Linked DNA regions of Homo sapiens: region 1 is linked to region 2. The links are contacts of gene promoters, found by promoter capture Hi-C in blood cells and fetal thymus (Javierre and others, 2016). All regions are on one chromosome and are shown on one strand. Each heading gives the region's core, a stretch centred on a gene start or on the middle of the fragment in contact. The rest is flanking DNA. Distances are from core to core; before and after follow the strand shown. Region 1 overlaps EBF3 (EBF transcription factor 3). Region 2 holds the start of GLRX3 (glutaredoxin 3).

Evidence for each region. Contacts are between HindIII fragments. The CHiCAGO score rates a contact against its expected background, and 5 or more counts as called.
Region 1: a fragment that was not itself captured here is called in contact with the fragment with the promoter of GLRX3 in region 2 in 5 of 17 cell types (activated CD4 T cells, naive CD8 T cells, total CD8 T cells and 2 more); the score reaches 8.4 in activated CD4 T cells.

Annotation. Positions count from the first base shown.
Region 1 is chr10:129,876,322-129,879,410 of GRCh38, forward strand. It overlaps EBF3 (EBF transcription factor 3), which reads right to left. Exons shown (of 17, transcript NM_001375380.1): 7 at 1,447-1,528. Among named protein-coding and RNA genes, the nearest start is that of EBF3-AS1, 21 kb to the left of the region's middle. The HindIII fragment of the contact is 580 bases long and covers 1,181-1,760 here.
Region 2 is chr10:130,135,126-130,138,196 of GRCh38, forward strand. It overlaps GLRX3 (glutaredoxin 3), which reads left to right and starts at 1,266. Exons shown (of 11, transcript NM_006541.5): 1 at 1,266-1,387. The coding sequence starts at 1,296. It overlaps LOC105378561 (a long non-coding RNA gene), which reads right to left and starts at 1,246. Exons shown (of 6, transcript XR_001747659.2): 1 at 1-1,246. RefSeq lists a silencer at 1,248-1,847 and enhancers at 2,048-2,097, 2,376-3,011, 3,012-3,071. The HindIII fragment of the contact is 5,217 bases long and covers 1-2,605 here.

The DNA.
Region 1 (3,089 bases), core at 221-2,720, 260 kb before region 2:
AACTGACGCTGTGTTCAGTCATTGGTGAGACAAAGAGGACACAGCCCCTCAGCCCTGCCTGACTTCCATTCTGCTTAGAAGGATCAATATCACCAGTATCCTGTGAAGCCTAGTGCGTGACAAATGGAAGCAGACCCAACTGTTCGCAGGAAACACTGTCCCCAGCTGCAGACATGACTGTGGGCGGGCCCAAAGAGCCCGCCTCCTCTGACCAGCTGACCGGGCAGGCATGGAGACAGATGTCACGTGATTCACTAAAGGACTGAGGCATAAGTTAAATTTCTGAGAAATGCTTTGAGCTATTTGATGGAAAAACTGGGTAAATCCCAAACAGGAATCATTCTGCTCTTGGGTCATTCATCCAAGCTAGTGGTCATTTCCATTAGCCGCCAAATTCTTCTCTGGCTGGTTTTGTATTCTAGCCCAGACTATTTTTACAATTAAAATTAGCAAAATCATCCAATGTGTTTACCCTGAATTAGCTTCCTAATCATTCACAAAAAAGGCAAGAAAAATATGAATCTATCATAATGGTACATAAATCTATCATAATTCATCCCTGAACCCCCCCCCCCCCCCCACCCAGCTACCCCTCTGTATCCGTCTTTTGGATAAAATCTTCTGAGGCAAACCAGAGACAGGACTTAGCCTGAGTTTAGGAACAGATGCAACTAGCATGGAAAGTGGGCAATAAGAACACAGTAAACCTCGGGGGAAGGAAGCCGAGGCCAGGAAGAGACTCTGGCAGTTGCAGAGGTCTGTACTAAGCAGGTGCAGATCCCTCTATGAGGAGGATCTCAGATCTGGAGTATTCCCAAAAGGTTGCATTATAGTTCTCCTCCCACTGAAAATCAATCCCTCAATCAATCCCAAAAGAAGCACTTCTGGGCTGGGCACGGTGGCTCACGCCTGTAATCCCAGCACTTTCAGAGGCCAAGGCAGGCGGATTACTTGAGGTCAGGAGCTTGAGACCAGCCTGGAAAACATATTGAAACCCCATCTCTACTAAAAATACTGGGTGTGGTGGTGTGCGCCTGTAATCCCAGCTACTCAGGAGGCTGAGGCAGGAGAATCCCTTGAACCTGGGAGGCGGAGGTTGTAGTGAGCCAAGATCGCACCACTGCACTCTAGCCTGGGATACAGAGCAAGACTCTGTCTCCAAAAAAAAAAAAAAAAAAAAAGCTTCCACATGGCCATGTTTTCAAAGCTAAGTTCGCTGTTCGCTATATTGTGCCCACATTAGACTTGATGAATCTGGCATACTGAATATACCAGATCATTCTTAAAGCATTTTATTTGCATATTTTTATCAAATGCACCAATTCCAGTTTGCTTCCAAGCCCTTAAAGAACTCAAGATTACTTCCTGAACAGTTGCAAATCAGAGAATTCAAATTTGGTATGAAAAGTCAGGACCACGGTCCACGTGTCTTTGAGAAATGTATACCTGGAATCTCCGCATATCTCGAGGGTTGCCTGCATTCTTCAAACAGTTCTGATTGCACTTGAGGAAAAACTTTAGAAAGAATCTATAAAAAATACAAAAAGATGATATTTATTAGGGTTATCAGACAAAAGACTCAAACTTTTTAAAAGACACTCTTGCGCAGGGAGGAGTGGAGACTCAACCCCACAGCTTCCACACTTCCCTCTAGGGGGCGACATTGAGAAGAGGCTCTGGGAGAGGCGGCGAGGAGGCACCCAGAAATAGCCACACAGGAGAGCAGTGAGTTGCATTTGCCTTGACGCTGTGGGTGTCCAAGCTTTATGATAATAGCTGCGACTTTCGCATTGGCATTTCTTGGCTCAATCTTTGCACAACTGCCCATTAACCATGGGGGAAACATTCAGCCCAGACAGGCCTACCATCTCAACCCACTAAAAATGAAGGATGCCTAGTTAAATTTGAATTTTGGATAAACAAAAAATAATGTCCCAAAGCATACTCCTCACTAAAAAATTGCTGTTGACCTGAAATGGAAATTTCACTGGATGTGCCATATCTTATCTGGCAACCCTAATTCCAGAGGCTACCACTGCCTAAGCAAACACACTTTTAAATATGGGTTTTAAGAGTTACAGTAGCGCCTGTAATCCCAGCACTTTGGGAGGCTGAGGTGGGCAGATGACTTGAGGTCAGGAGTTCGAGACAAGCCTGGCCAACATGGTGAAACCCCATCTCTACTAAAAATACAAAAATCAGCCAGGTGCGGTGGCATGTGCCTATAATCCCAGCTACTCGGGAGGCTGAGGCAGGAGAATCGCTTGAACCCAGGAGGTTCAGTGAGCCGAGATCGTGCCAGTGCACTCCAGCCTGGTTGACAGCTCAAGGCTCTGTCTCAAAAAAAAAAAAAAAAAAAAAAGAGTTACAGTAGGTACAGCTCTTAAAAAGCAATTGGGGGGTGGGGCAGGAGAATCACTTGAACCCAGGAGGTGGAGGTTGCAGTGAGCGGAGATTGCACCACTGCACTCCAGCCTGGGCAACACAGTGAAAATCGGTCTCAAAAAAAAAAAAAAAAAAAAAAATCTAAGAACTGATTGGGAGGCATATTGTTTTAACCAAGAATTCTTGAGGCGGTAATGAAACTGTTGCTGAGGCAGAAAGCAAGGAACAGCACTCTGCAGGGCTGGGGAGGTGAGGCCGAAGCGAGTGCTATTTCCATTTCCCGCCATGCCTTGCCCTTATGTTTCATGGCATGAAGATTCAGGGGTCCTGACAGTGTGTTGAGATGCTGTGACTAAAACGTCATCATGTTGTCCTCCGCATTCCTGCATGCTCAGTGACATTGCAGGAGAGCTGGCTTCCAGTCTGAACTCAAAGAACCTGGGAAGCCAGGCTCTACCACTACCCACAGGAAAAGTGGGTGGGGGGGTTTCTCCCTGTATAACCTCTGCCTCAACTTGAAAAGGCCACAACCAAGAGGTCCCAGAGCTTGGGTCTGTGCTGAAACACCCACTCTCTGCACGTGGCCAAGCATCCTGTCCAGCAAGGTCATCAACACAAACCTTTCTCTACTTCCTCCCAAAATATCATCTGTCCTACTTGGTGATTATTAATTTTTGATGAAGTTTCACATGATTTTCTTACGT
Region 2 (3,071 bases), core at 16-2,515:
GGCCAGAAGGTGTGTGGGAAGCATGGGGTGTGGGGTACAGAGTACACCACATGGAGAGCCAACATCAGGGGGATTCCCAAGGGAGAAAGACAAGCCAGGGATCATCCAAGGAGGCAAGACGGGAGGAGTGCAGGGATCTGTGGACCCACCCAGCCCCTTCTGTTCTGAGGTTACAATGGGTGATGGCTCTGTGGGGCTGCAATGAGTGGCGGCACGCGCGGAGGGCCAGGGGAGGAGGGACATGCTGTGGGCTCCGGGTTCAGGTCCCAGGACTGAATTGGAAGCACCCTGTCTGTGTTGAAGTTCAAGATCTACCACTTCTGTTCCCAGACCTCCCAGTTCTTCCTCACCTTTATGCAATTTCATTTTTGATAATTTCAGCTTCCTAAATGTACACATCTGACTTCACTTTCACTCACATGTCTCACCCCCACCCCTCCACCGGCCCCTTCTATTACAGACCCAGGAGACACAGGAAGTGCAAGGAAGGTCTGGAGCCCCAAAAGCCAGGAGCCTCAGGAGTCAGGTGTCCTGACAGCCAGGAACCCTGACACCCAGGAGCCCTGGCACCCAGGAACCCCAACAGCCAGAAGCCTCTACCACCAGGAGCCCTGACAGCAAGGAACCCCGACACCCAGGAGCCCCTACTACAGCCAGGAAGCCAGGAACCCTAACACCAGGAGCCCTGACACCCAGTCACCCCGACAGCCAGGAAGCCAACAGCAAGAAGCCTCTACCACCAGGAGCCCTGACAGCAAGGAACCCCGACACCCAGGAGCCCCTGCTATAGCCAGGAACCCTAACACCCAGGAGCCCCTACAGTCAGGAACCCCGACACCCAGGGGTCCCGACAGCCAGGAACCCCGACACCCAGGGGTCCCGACAGCCAGGGGCCATTACGGCCAGGAGCCCCGACAGCCAGGGACCTCGACGGCCAGAATCCACTACATCCAGAAGCCCTTATAACCGGGAACCTCCATAGCCAGGAGCCCCTACAGCCAGGAGCCCCTTCAGCCAGGGAGCCCCGAAAGCCAGGAGCCCCGACAGCCAGGAACCATAACAGCCATGAACCCCGGGAGCCAGGAGGCCCGCAGCGGAGTGCCCAGACTTGGCAGGGTCAGAGCCCCCCAGCGGGATCCAGAGCCCGCCGCCGAGGCCCCTTTTGGGATTTCTCAGGCTCGGCAGCCTCAGCGCAGGCAGGGGCGGGGCTTTCCCTCGCGCAGCCGCTCAGCTCCCCGTGGCCCCGCCCACATCCGGCCGCCGGCACTGGATTGCTTCTGTCTGGCGGCGGCAGCATGGCGGCGGGGGCGGCTGAGGCAGCTGTAGCGGCCGTGGAGGAGGTCGGCTCAGCCGGGCAGTTTGAGGAGCTGCTGCGCCTCAAAGCCAAGTAAGCGGGGCGGCGAGCGGTAGGAGTGAGGAGCCGGAGCGGGAGCGGCCGCGAGACCGGGCCGGTGTGGGGCGGCGGGTGGCCCAGCCTGGCTTCTTGGTGCCCGGCTCCCTTCGGCCTCGGGGGACCGGGCCCGGCGCCACCCGTAGACTCCCCCGAGCCTCCGCGTGAGTGGCCCGAGCCGCAGGTTCCCCGCCCCGGAACAGCGAGCAGGGCGCGAGGCTCGCCTGGAAGCCCCGGCCCCAGCCCTGGCTCCGACCCCGACGGCTGTCCAAGCCCGGGGGACGCGACCTTCCCGGCCTCTGGCCTGGGCGGCCCCGCCGCGGGACGGAGGCGGTGGTGACTCAGCCGTGCCGCAGTGGCGGGGCGGGGGACGGGGCGGCGCCGAGACCCCGGCCCTCCGCGCCACGGAGCGGGACCCACGGCTGCGGGCTCCACCTTTCCTGTGCCCGCCGGGAGGGAGCGGCAGGCTCGGCGTCGGCCCATTGCTCTTCAGCCTCCCTTCAGGAACGCCCCTGTCGCAGGAAGAGCGGCGAGGGAAGGCCCCGTTGCATTAGCTAGGCCTGGCTGCCTTTTGAAGTCAGCCTTTAAAGTTTGTTGGACAGCAGGTAGCCTCAGTCTTCAGACTTAACCTGTTGCCGGAGACAGAGATTTCCTGTTCCATGAACTGGTGTAGTGAGAGTCTGTTCAGATTTGGCGCCGGTGTCCAGGTCTTCAATCCCTGGGAAGACTACAAAAGGAGATCCAGAGGAATGCATAGAAAGCGTTTTCTGGGTGGACTAGAAGCTCTGAACTGCAAGCATGCTTACGAGTAAATGCTTACTAGCGTGCGTGCCTGCAGGGAAAGGTCTGCACGTGGACTCTCCGTGATAATACCACCTCACATTGTAGACTACTCCAAGGACTGAGTTGTTCTCTTAGTTGTATTATTAGCGGTTGTTATGGGAACTCTTATGTCGGATTGCCTGGGATCCAGTCCCACCGCAGCCACTCAGTAGCCATGTAACCCCTGGGCACGTTTCATGCCCAAGCCTCAGTTTCCCGACGGTGACATAGATTAGCACCTGTTAGTACCTCAGGGTTGTTGTGAGGGTTAAATGAGATGACGTATGTAAAATACAAATAATACAATGCCTAGTATGCAGGAAGCACTCAGTAGATGTTGGCACTTAGTATTTCAGTAGGAAGTAGAATGGTTCATGGAATTCACAGGCAAAAAGCTTTGTTTTGTTTTGTTTTTGAGACAGGGTCTGGCTCTGTCACCCAGGCTGCAGTGTAGTGGAGCGATCACGGCTCCCTGCAGCCTCCGCCTCCCAGGCTCAAGTGATCGACCCACCTCATCCTCCCGAGTAGCTGGGACCACAGGTGCTCACCACCACGCCCGTCTAATTTTTATTTTTTTTTATAGAGACGAGGTCTCGCCATGTTGCCCAGCCTCGTCTCGACCTTCTGGACTCGAGCGATCTGCCCTCCTCAGCCTCCCAAAGGGTTGGGATTACAGGTGTGAGCTACCACGTCCGGCCAGAAATGCTTATTGATCTAAATTTTGTTTTGTTTGTTTTCGAGACAGGCTGTTGCTCTGTTGCCCAGGCTGAGTGCAGTGGCGTGATCTCGGCTCACTGCAGCCTCTACCTCCTGGGTTCAAGCGATCCTCCCACCTCAGCCTCCTGAGTATCTGGGACTA